Regions from separate parts of the Homo sapiens genome. Here all the other regions are linked to region 2. Evidence: promoter capture Hi-C in 16 types of primary human blood cells and fetal thymus (Javierre and others, 2016). All regions are on one chromosome and are shown on one strand. Each heading gives the region's core, a stretch centred on a gene start or on the middle of the fragment in contact. The rest is flanking DNA. Distances are from core to core; before and after follow the strand shown.

What was found. The method cuts DNA at HindIII sites, captures the fragments that hold promoters and counts their contacts. A CHiCAGO score of 5 or more calls a contact.
Region 1: a contact is called between the fragment with the promoter of GALK1 here and the fragment with the promoter of GGA3 in region 2, in 1 of 17 cell types (fetal thymus). The highest score is 6.6, in fetal thymus.
Region 3: the fragment with the promoter of ERLN here is called in contact with the fragment with the promoter of GGA3 in region 2 in 1 of 17 cell types (endothelial precursors); the score reaches 5.1 in endothelial precursors.
Region 4: a fragment that was not itself captured here is called in contact with the fragment with the promoter of GGA3 in region 2 in 1 of 17 cell types (fetal thymus); the score reaches 5.2 in fetal thymus.

The regions. Positions count from the first base shown.
Region 1 is chr17:75,763,776-75,766,729 of GRCh38, forward strand. GALK1 (galactokinase 1) reads right to left here and starts at 1,417. Exons shown (of 8, transcript NM_000154.2): 1 at 1,197-1,417; 2 at 122-311. The coding sequence starts at 1,361. RefSeq lists enhancers at 432-641, 672-901 and silencers at 1,012-1,161, 1,392-1,581. The HindIII fragment of the contact is 22,999 bases long and covers 1-2,954 here.
Region 2 is chr17:75,260,075-75,262,856 of GRCh38, forward strand. GGA3 (golgi associated, gamma adaptin ear containing, ARF binding protein 3) reads right to left here and starts at 1,532. Exons shown (of 17, transcript NM_138619.4): 1 at 1,474-1,532. The coding sequence starts at 1,513. It overlaps MRPS7 (mitochondrial ribosomal protein S7), which reads left to right and starts at 1,805. Exons shown (of 5, transcript NM_015971.4): 1 at 1,805-1,909; 2 at 2,423-2,614; 3 at 2,730-2,782. The coding sequence starts at 1,827. RefSeq lists enhancers at 938-1,037, 1,508-1,917, 1,714-2,591. The HindIII fragment of the contact is 945 bases long and covers 1,081-2,025 here.
Region 3 is chr17:75,644,854-75,647,553 of GRCh38, forward strand. It overlaps ERLN (endoregulin), which reads left to right and starts at 1,398. Exons shown (of 2, transcript NM_001162997.2): 1 at 1,398-1,933; 2 at 2,518-2,700. The coding sequence starts at 2,524. The region is part of intron 8 of RECQL5 (RecQ like helicase 5); the gene reads right to left. RefSeq lists enhancers at 1,325-1,469, 1,637-1,716 and a cis regulatory region at 1,390-1,403. The HindIII fragment of the contact is 6,633 bases long and covers 1-2,700 here.
Region 4 is chr17:75,591,859-75,594,558 of GRCh38, forward strand. It overlaps MYO15B (myosin XVB), which reads left to right. Exons shown (of 64, transcript NM_001395058.1): 6 at 119-222; 7 at 380-443; 8 at 570-683; 9 at 821-982; 10 at 2,617-2,700. Among named protein-coding and RNA genes, the nearest start is that of MYO15B, 5.4 kb to the left of the region's middle. The HindIII fragment of the contact is 5,609 bases long and covers 1-2,700 here.

The DNA of each region.
Region 1 (2,954 bases), core at 167-2,666, 500 kb after region 2:
AATGGGATGCTCCACTCTACAAGCCTTCCCCACAGTGTATCAGACAAATGAATGGGCTCTGTGGCTGTGAGGTGGCACTCCTAGTATCAGTGAGGACTTGGCTCAGGCCTGGGCCCCATACCTGGGTAGTACTGAATCACTCCCTTGACATAGTTGGCCCACCGAGGAGTCCCAGGCTCCAGCGAGCGCTGGGCTGTGGGCAGTGGAAACTGCAGCCGCTGGGGCTCATCGGCACCCTCAGAGGTGGTGAGGAGAGACACCAGCCCATCCTTGCGGGGGCTGCCCACCAGCACCGTCATGAGCTCCAGAGCCTGGCAGGAGAGACAAGCAGTACGTGAGGCTTCCGCCAGCTGGAGTAAGCCTCTCCAATGACACTGCCTCCAGCCGAGGTTCTGATGCCTCCACAGTCATCAGGTTCTGAACCTCCAGGTTCAGCGTCGCAGGGAAGATCCTGAGGGCCAGCTGACCTTGGGGGCTTGAGCCCTGCCCCCTTAGGTCTTCAGGGGCGGGGCGGCTGCAGCTGGAGCACAGACCTGGACTCTGCCCTGAGCTGTGGGGCAAGGGGGAGAGCTAGCCCAAAGGGAAAACAGATCACTGGAGCTCCAAAGCCTTTACATTTTGGGGTGGCTCTGGACATCCTGTACCTGTGCACTCCCCAAGCTGCAGATGGGGCGGAAAGCGCCCCCCGCTGAAAGCTGGGAGTCCTCACTCCCAAGTCGCAGCCCCGCCAAGAACCTGCTGTGTGACCTCCAGCAGTTCACTGGGCCTCTCTAGGCCTCAGTTTCCTCCTCTGTAAATTGAACGGGCTGGGCCAGAAGGCTACGTTCGCCCAGGTCTGCGGTTGGGGCCCCACGGTGGCCGGAGGCGCGGAGTGTCCCCTTCTGCGTGGCACACAGGGCCTCACAGTTTAAGGGGAACATGCTCCCAGGTTGAAGGCGAGGAGCCCCAGCCCCCAGAGGGCGGGCTTGAGCCAAGAGGCGGCCGCGCACCCTCTCCCGGCCACTTCCTCGCTTCCTCCCTTCCAACGTGGGGAACAGCCTGTCCCGGGGACTCTTCCGTGCACCGGTGCTCCAGGCGCAGCTGCCCGCCCCACATCTCCCGCGGGAAGAACTCGCCCCCAGCGTCCCCGAGGCCCGCCCTCCTCGGCGGCCGGGACAGGCGGCGGCGGGCTAGGGGCTCCCCGTGCAGCCCCTCACCATAGGCAGCACCAGGCCCTGGTTGTAGTCCGTGTGTTCCCCGATGAGGTTGACGCGGCCCGGCGCTGACACGGCCAGCTCGGGCTCGGCCCCGAACTCCTCCCGGAAGGCTCGCCGGGCCTCGGCCAGCAGCTCCGCGACCTGGGGCTGTCTCAAAGCAGCCATGACGCGCGCCTGCAGCTCTGCACAGCTGCTCCGGCACAGCCCCGTCGGCGCGGGATGCTCGGGCGGGGCCCCGCGCGGGGGTGCGCACATTCCCGCCAGCCCCGCCCCGCGCCCGGACGCCCCGCCCCCAGACCTCAGCCGGTTCCGCCCCCACCCGCAACTCCCGTGGGAATCCAGCTGCTGGGTGGTGGGTGGCAGGGGCTAATGGTGCCGGGTGGGATACAGCGCCCCCGATGGTGTCCTTCCCTCTGGACTTCGGGAAGAACCAATGAGCACTCACTAGAGTGAGAATAGCCCTGAGTGGCACTTGGCATGACCAGGATTTCTGAGCTGCCCTTCCCTGGCGCTGGTGACTTTCTATGTGCCTCACCACCCACCACCACCCACACAGCCAGAGCAATGGAGCTGGCACCCGGTTGACCTGGGATTCCCAAAGGGATCCCCTAGGTCCCCAGGGCCAGCAGCTGTGAGAGGTCATCAGCCTCTGATCACCGGTCTCCAAGAGGGTGACCTGACACTCACTGTAAGTAGAGATAAAGACAGACAAGTTTGGGCCGGGCGCAGTGGCTCACGCCTGTAATCCCAGCACTTTGGGAGGCCGAGGTGTGCAGATCACCTGAGGTCGGGAGTTGGAGACCAGCCTGACCAACATGGAGAAACCCCATCTCTACTAAAAAATACAAAATTAGCTGGGCATGGTGGCTCATGCCTGTAATCCCAGCTACTCGGGAGGCTGAGGCAGGAGAATCACTTGAACCTGGGAGGCGGAGGTTTCGGTGAGCTGAGATCACACCATTGCACTCCAGCCTGGGCAACAAGAGCAAAACTCTGTCTCAAAAAAAAAAAAGACAAGTTTGGTGGTGACCAGAGAGTCAATTTTACAAGCTCCTTTTCTAGGTAATACGCAACAGCTCCTAGCAATGGAGAATTGGACTAGGGTGGCGGTGGCCAGCAGTGGGCCCAGCCCCTCCCTTAAGGACCTGCCACAGCTGTCCAGGTAGGTTGTGCTGTTGGCCCCAGCAGGCACTACTTCAGCCCAGAAGCCCTTGTCTCAGAGGCGTGGCCTTGTTCCCAGTCAGGCACTCTTCTCTTGCTATCCTGCATCCTAAACCTGCTGGCCGGCCCCAACTGCTGCCTTGATACCTGTCCACAGCTGCCCACCCTACATGGAACCTTGAAACTGAAAGACTGAAATGTAAGCAGCTTGCTTGGGGTTAGGGTGGGAGTAGTGTGGGGAGTTATGGCCAGGGATTTAGCTTGGGGCCTGCTCAGGGGTGTGCCCAAAGAGTGGGGAACTGCATTCCAAGGGCAATTCTGAAAACTCTTAGAAGAAAACATAGGGGTACAGTTTTGTGACATTGGTTAGGAAATGTTTATTTGGTTTCTGTTTTTGAGACGGAGTTTCGCTCTCGTTGTCCAAGCTGGAGTGCAATGGCGTGATCTCAGCTTACTGCAACCTCTGCCTCCCGGGTTCAAGCGATTCTCCTGCCTCAGCCTCCGGAGTAGCTGGGATTACAGGCACGTGCCACCATGCCCGGCTAATTTTTTGTATTTTTAGTGGAGACTGGGGTTTCACCAGGTTAGCCAGGCTGG
Region 2 (2,782 bases), core at 282-2,781:
GGGGTTCAAGGCTGCAGTGAGCTATGATCGCACCCCTGCACTCCAGCCTAGACAACAGCGCGCGAGACTCTGTCTCAAAAACAAGTAACAAAAACAAAATGTAACTCTAAATGTAGCCTATTAAACTCAGCTTAGGTCATTTAAATTATTCAATACCCATATTAATACCTTCAAAGCAAACTAATTCCACTCTGGTTATAGCAAGTTGGGCATTTCTGGGCAAGTGGTTTGACTGGAGTCAGGATGTCCTCTTTTTGTGAAATTATGGCAGTAGTGCCTGCTTTGCTAGAATACTTGGTAAACTAATTTAATGAATATCTGTAAAGTACTTTGAGCTCCTTGGAGAACACTTCCATATATAAAGAAGCCTTATGACCTGCCTGCAACTGCAGATTTTGCAAACGTGATCTTACTTTTTCTCTCTTTTGGGATATGCTCCCCTTTAAACTGAAGCTCAACCTCCTGAAGGGGGTTTCTTACTAGGAAAAATCAGACAATTTGAGGAAATAGCTATCACCTCCAAGATCCCGGAAGCAGTACTAAATAAGAGACCTCAGAACAAGGCAATACTAGGTATCTCACCTATCCCATTACCAGTCCAATTTCTCTCTCCACTTAAAGGAGGCTTCCAGGTCTAGCCTACAGGAAAGTTCACTTATTAACCCTCAGGCAGAGTACTACCTGCTAACCAGGTTAACACACATTTCCTTCGTAGCACTGTAATTCACAGTGCAATGACAGCAATACGCTTCTATAACTACAGCTTCAGACTGTGCTCCTCAGCCTTACTCAGAATAGGCTATCAACACTGACTCGTTAGGATATTCAAGGGGGTATATGTATGTGTGTGGGGGGGGAATTCCCGACACCGATTTCACCATGCTTCTGTGGTCACTGCAGGAAAAAGGTAGAGCTCTCTGTTCTCTATCATCGCTCTCTTTGGAATATTATTCTCACTTCAAGCATTCTGCCTGAGCGAAGCCGTCACTTCTCCAACACATGGTCACAATTCTGAAGCTGCCAGGCGACTGAACGCAGTCGGCAGCACCCACCACTACCGGAGACTCAGCCCCAATCCGAAGCTTCTCCCTTAGTCAGGGATTGGGGCGCTGGGTTCCTGGTGTCACCGCCGGGCGGCGACCCCACCACAATCTCCCCAAAGCGCCGAAGCATGTCAGCCCGAAGATCTTGGCTGTCGCCTTTCCCCGAGCCTGCGGTGCCCGACAGGAGCCCGAGTTCACGCCGCCGCGCGCCAGAGCAAGAGGACGCGCCGCAGCGAGGGAAGCGGGGGCCGGACTGGGGCCCGGCGCCCTGATAGGGAAGGGGCGTGATCGCAGGCTGCTCGCGGCGAGGGCGAGACCGGGCGTGGGCTGCCAAGAGGCGACGCCGTGGAGCCCGGGGAGGGGACGTGGGGGTGAAGACAGGGGCAGCCCAGCGGCTCGAGGGCAGGCAGAAACGGCCGCGGCTACTCACTGAGCCAGGACTCCAGGCTTTCCCCTTCCGCCTCCGCCATATTGCAGCCGCCCGGCCCCGCGGCTTCAAAACTCGCGAGAGTCTGCACGAGCTGAGACGGGGCGGGGCCTGCATGGGGTCCTGAGAGGAGTGAGTGCCGTCACCGAGGGCCGCGCCAGACTGCGACGGATACAGGGAGGGCAAGGGTTTCCTTTTGGCGCTCCCCTTTGGACCCCGGAGTGAAAAACTCTAACGTCCAGATCAGTGGAGAGAAACGCAGATTTAGGACCCTGAGGAGTCTTTTTCACCCGTTTCCCGTCACTCGCTCAGGCGCGCCGAGGGCAGTCCTTGTGGGGTCCTCGTGGCCAGCCAAGATGGCTGCCCCCGCAGTGAAGGTTGCCCGAGGATGGTCGGGCCTGGCGTTGGGCGTGCGGCGGGCTGTCTTGCAGCTTCCAGGGTGAGAGGGTGGCGAGCAGCGGCGGGGGGGCGCTGCGAGGAAGGAAGGGGGCCACAGGCAGGCCGCGTGGGCCCCTAGAGAGAGCATTGCCCTGGGGGCCGGAGTATCTGGATTCAAGCTTCTAAGTTAGCTGCGTGACCCTGCGCCAATCCGAAGGTTTAGTGACTACCTCTCGCCTAAGGAGTCTGGCTGATCTAGGGTTCTAACGCGGAGCTGAAAGTGCGGTTCAGCTAAAGAGCTCAGATCTGGGATCGCCTGTGAATTGGGATGGGTGTGTAGGCGCCAAGCCCATCCTTACCGTTAGCACTTGACCAGGAGGAGACTTTACCCGCCTGCTTGGGGAATGTCCTCCTACTTGGGACAAGGGCCTGAATTGTTGTGGCTCAGGTTTAGCTCGCGGTCTCCGCGCCGCTCCCCCTCGTCGGCGCGTTGGCAGTCATGCCTATTGTTAAGTCAAACCTACTCGCTTGTGGAGTCAGCTTTTGCCTGCCTCCTCCTTTCCCCCCCTCCCAGGCTAACTCAGGTGAGATGGAGCCGCTATAGTCCTGAATTCAAGGATCCCTTGATTGACAAGGAATATTATCGCAAGCCAGTGGAGGAGCTAACTGAGGAGGAGAAATATGTTCGGGAGCTCAAGAAGACTCAGCTCATCAAAGCTGCTCCAGCAGGGAAAACAAGTTCTGTGTTTGAAGACCCAGTCATCAGGTTAGATGGAAACAAACACTTGTTACATGGACTGGGACTATCCCAGGGAGGGTTTCTGGTGAGGATTCTGTGATACAGCCTTGGAGAGCTAAACGTGTTGCTTTTCTCTTTGAAGTAAATTCACCAACATGATGATGATAGGAGGAAACAAAGTACTGGCCAGATCCC
Region 3 (2,700 bases), core at 148-2,647, 380 kb after region 2:
TTGGGGCCGGCAGTTAATTGAAAGAGCTGGTCAAAGCAACTTTTGTTAAAGAACACCTAAGTTCTCTACACATCTATTACTTTTTTACATATCTCACATTAAATGGAAACATACACCTTTTCCTTGGCCGGCCTTCCTGGCCTTTTCTCTGAGTGTGGGCTTGCCAACCAGAGCTCCTGGATTGCTATCTTCTAGTTTTGGTTGAGTGTGGGCTTGCCAACCACAGCTCCTGGATTGTTATTTTCTAGTTTTGGTTTCTTTAAAGCAGAACAAAAACTTAAAGTCATTGGAACTTAAAGGCAAAGGAAGCTGGGTGTGAAAACCTTCTGGGTTTTTACAAAATGTCCCTGATGTTTAGTTATCATGTCTGCATCTTTTTCAACAGGAACATTATCTGAGTGATTCCAAAGTCATCCCAAAGTAGTCAATAGGTATTTCTAGAAAGAATTTCTTTCTCCACTCGCTCTGAGGTGCAGCACAGGTGCTTCAGCGCTCAGACTGTGTGCTGCTGGATTCAAACTCCAACTCAGTTACTTACTAGCTGATGACCTCGGCTAAGTTATTTAACCTCTCTGTGCCCGTTCCCCACATGTAAAATTGGGGTTTCAGCTATTATTGTTGCTTCATTGGTTCCCGGGATGTTAAATTCAATTATGTAATTACAAGTACAACTGCCATGAACAGGTTTGGGAACCAACACTTGACTCTTGATAAGCATCTGACTTAACTGACGGAGCTGCACGCAAAGGGTGAGCTAGAGACTGGCCCACTGCTGTGAGCGTTCAGCATGCCAAGGGCCTTAGTCAGTAAGTTTCACACAAGGAAACAGAAAACATCAGGTAACCCGGGTCAGTGACGCCCATGATAGTTAAGAACGACTGTTCTAAATCTGCCTCCATCTGTCATCCAACCCTGGCCACACCTGGGGAGAATCACCTGGGGATGTGTAAACAATACGACATCCTGGCAACCCCAGAGACTGATATAAGTGGTACCAGGTGGGGCCTGGGCATTTCTCAAAGCTCCTAGATCTTTACCAGCTGGGATAAGCACCCGAGGGCTAGAAGGGAAGCCCTTGGAGGGCAGGGCCCGCCTCTCTGATCTCACAACTGGACACACAGTGCCTGGCATGGTTCCTGGCCATAGCGGGCCCTCACATCCTAGCTTTTAAAGGAGTATATGGTGGCCACTAGGTTTCAAGCACCAGGGCACAGGCTTGATCCCCTCTTCCCAGCTTCCCTATTGTGCCAGTGGGCAGAAACCAACCACACAATGTTGCTGAGGCCGTGCCCAGGGAGCAGACAAAGGCACCAATGGGAAGCCTCAGGGGGGGAGCAACACTTCCCCCAGAAACAGTTCCAGGAGGCACCAGGCGCCAGCCAGGGCTGCAGTTAATCATTCACCCCACAACACAGGAAGTGAGCCCTACGCCAGTCCCAGCCCCAGGGCTTCCTGAGCTCGGGGCAGGTCCGCAGTCCACACGTCACCCAGACAGAGGACAGCCCAGCCCAGCCACAGGTGAGGCGGCCTGATGGCCTGGGGCAAAGGCCCTCGGTCCAGTCTCTTCCCCGTCCACCCCAAGTCTGACTTCTCTCAGGAGGGACTCATGAACACGTGCCCTGAGCACCCCCAAAATGACATCACACAAGGGCAGAAAGGAGCTGAAGGGGGAACGTGAAAGGCAGAAAGGGAGCCGTGGTTGCCAGGCAACCAGCCCTAGCCCACCTTTGTTTGTTTGGTGACAGCAACTAAGGTCTGGTCAGGGCCGCTTGGCCACGCTCATGCCTTTTCCTCTCAACAGTTGCTTCTTTGAGTCAGGGTGCAGCTCTGGTCACCTGGCGGCCTCTTCAGCTCAGCCCTCCACAAAGTGTGAGCCTGAAGGACCACCCTGAATTGCCCTTGTAGGACCCAGAACAGCTACCAGCAGAATCAGGTAATGGCTCCCTCCTTCTCCACCTGGGCTGCCCTCACCTGGCTATGGGCTTGCAGTCTGCGATAAGGAGCTCCGCTTCTAGAGGACTCCTAAGTTCTATTCTCAGCTGCTCCAAGGAGGCTACCGAGGCCTCAGCTGGAGTTGGCCCCTCCTCGGCTCCTATACGCTCTCTCAAATGCCTCCCAAATGTTTGGCAGTTGGGGCAGGAAAAACAGGGAGACTCTATCATGATGCTTTTTAGATTCTAGCCAAGTAGGTCTCAGGGATGAGAGAGAGTCCTTGCTCACACTTGCTACTCAGGAAAGAAGGACTGGAGAATCCAGGGGCATCCCCTAGGAAGAATCCAGGGCCCCACTTCTTGCGCCAGTCCTGGCTCCTGTATCTAGAGCGGGGGAAATGCCATTTGCTGCTGGCTGCAGGCATCCAGCACAAAGACTCTAGCCCTTTCATGTCCCCTGGCTGCCAGGCGGGCCGGCTGCTCACAGAGGCTGCTACAGAGGCTGGAGTCGGCGGGCAGAGCATAGCACCTGGGACAGGGCCTGGGAGGGCTGCCTGCACTCAGGTCCTCTGTCCCTCTTTTCCAGATTCTCATGGACCAACTGGTATTCAAAGAGACAATCTGGAATGATGCGTTCTGGCAGAACCCCTGGGACCAGGGGGGCCTGGCAGTGATTATCTTATTCATCACCGCTGTCCTGCTTCTCATCTTATTTGCCATCGTGTTTGGTTTACTCACTTCCACAGAAAACACTCAGTGTGAAGCGGGT
Region 4 (2,700 bases), core at 134-2,633, 330 kb after region 2:
CTGCAGGCACTGCCCTTTCTGATGGGACTGACGCCTCCCTGGACCTGCCCCTAGCTGGGATGCCTGCTGGTGGGGGCTACTGCTGCCCAGGGATGCTTGAACACCCCTCCCTGTACAGGTGGAGGATATGCTGCCTATACTCAGCAGCTTTGGCCATGCCAAGACCATCCTCAATGCCAATGCCAGCCGCTTCGGCCAGGTCTTCTGCCTCTACCTACAGCAGTGAGTGGCAGGGTTGCAGGGGGCACCTACAATCACTTACCCTTCCTGGGTCCTTGGGCTGCTTCCCTGGGGTCCAGACCCTGGTAGGGCTTCTTCTGCACGGGGCCCCTGGGTGTTCTGCATCCTGGGCACTCACACCCATCTTCTGTGCCCACAGAGGGGTCATCGTGGGAGCCTCTGTGTCTCATTATCTACTTGAGACCTCCAGGGTGGTGTTTCAGGTAAAGGCAGCCCTTCTATCCACCCCTGCCCAGTTCCCAGAGTAGGAAGGGCAGAGGGTGTCACTGTCGGGGTGTGGCCTCTAAGCCCCTAGGGCACTGAGCCCCTAAGCCAGTCCTGTCCCCAAGGCCCAGGCTGAGCGGAGCTTCCATGTTTTTTACAAGCTGCTGGCAGGGCTGGACTCCATAGAGCGGGAGCGGCTCTCCCTGCAGGGACCGGAGACTTACTACTACCTCAACCAGGTCGGGGGAGCCCTTGTGGTGCGGCGGGGAGGCCTGCCCAGAGGAGGATCTCGGCCCGGAGGTCTGAGGAGTAGCCGGAGTAGAGGGAGGCTATGGGGTGGCAGGCCCCGCTCCCTCACCCCTGCTGTGCTCTGCAGGGCCAGGCCTGCAGGCTGCAAGGCAAGGAGGATGCCCAGGACTTTGAGGGGCTGCTGAAGGCACTGCAGGGGCTCGGCTTGTGCCCAGAGGAGTTGAATGCCGTCTGGGCTGTGCTGGCCGCCATCCTGCAGCTGGGCAACATCTGCTTCTCCTCCTCAGAGGTGGGCTTCCCCGTGGGCAGGGGCCATCTGGGGTGCTGGGTCTGTAGAATCAGGGCAGTGGTAATGACGCCAAATGCTGGTGTGTAGGAGACTACAGAGTGCTGGGCTGCCCTGAAAAGTGGGTAGATCCCCACTGTGTAGATGAGAAAGCTGAGACATAGAGCTTCTCCACTCTCCCAATGTCTGTGCCTCTAAGCTGCCACCCCTAAGAACATCTGGCATTAGATGAGCAGCTATGGTCAGGCATGGTGGGTCACACCTGTGATCCCAGCACTTTGGGAGGCCGAGGCAGGAGGATCGTGTGAAGCCAGGAGTTTGAGACCAGCCTAGGCAACATAGAGAAACCCCGTCTCTATTAAAAAAAAAAAAAAAAAAAAAAAGGGTTGGCGGTGGTGGCTCACACCTGTAATCCTAGCACTTTGGGAGGCCGAGGTGGGTGGATCACTTGAGCCCAGGAATTCTAGAGCAGCCTGGGCAACATGGCAAAATCTTGTCTCTACAAAAAATATGAACAGATTAGGCCAAGGCGAGCAGATCACTTGAAGTCAGGAGTTTGAGACCAGCCTGGCCAACATGCTGAAACCCTGTCTCTACTAAAAATACAAAAATTAGCTGGGTGTGGTGACACGTGCCTGGATGTGGTGGCACATCCCAGCTACTTAGAGAAGCTGAGGCAGGAGAATTGCTTGAACCCGGGAGGTGGAGGTGGCAGTGACCTGAGGTTGCGCCACTGTACTCCATCCAGCCTAGGTGACAGAGCGAGACTCCGTCTCAGAAAAAAAAAAAAAAACAAAACAGACTGGGCGTGGTGGCTCATGCCTGTAATCCCAGCACACTGGGAGGCCTAGATGGGCGGATCACCTGAGGTCAGGAGTTCGAGACCAGCCTGACCAATATGGTGAAACCCCGTCTCTACTAAAAATACAAAATTAGCCAGGTGTGGTGGCACATGCCTATAATCCCAGCTACTTAGGAGGCTGAGACAGGAGAATTGCTTGAACCTGGGAGGTGGAGGTTGCAGTGAGCCAAGACTATGCCATTGCACTCCAGCCTGAGCAACAAGAGCGAGACTCAGTCTCAGAAGAAAAAAAAAAAAAAGATTAGCTGGGCATGGTGGCATGTGCCTGTAATCCCAGCTACTGGGGAGGCTGAGGTGGAAGAATTACCTGATCCTGGGAGGTGGAGGCTGCAGTGAGCCTTGATCGTGCCACTGCATTCAGGCCTGGGTAACAGAGTGAGACCCTGTCTCAAAAAAAAAAAAAAAGAAAAAAAAAAATCAAACGAGCAGCTGTTATGTACCTGGGTACTGTGTAAATCACTTTGCATTTGTTTTCTAATTTAGTTTGCAAGACAACCCCCTAGGAAGGGTTACTGCTTCCCCTTTAGCAGTGAGGCCGTGGGGCGCAGGAAGGAAGGAGCCTGGCCAGAACTGTCCGCCAGCAAAGAGGGAAAGTAGGACTCGAACTCAGGGCCCTGAAAACCATAGCCTCGCTCCTAATGGCCCAGATCTCCTCATGTGACATATCTCCCCTTTGGTGACAGGGCCACTTACCAGGCAAAGCCCGGCCTGCCCTGCCTGGGGAGTGTGTCCATTCCTGAAGCAGAGATCTCCCTGTCCCTCCCTCTCTGTGTAGCGAGAGTCCCAGGAGGTGGCTGCTGTGTCTAGCTGGGCTGAGATCCACACAGCAGCCCGACTGCTGCGGGTACCACCAGAGTGC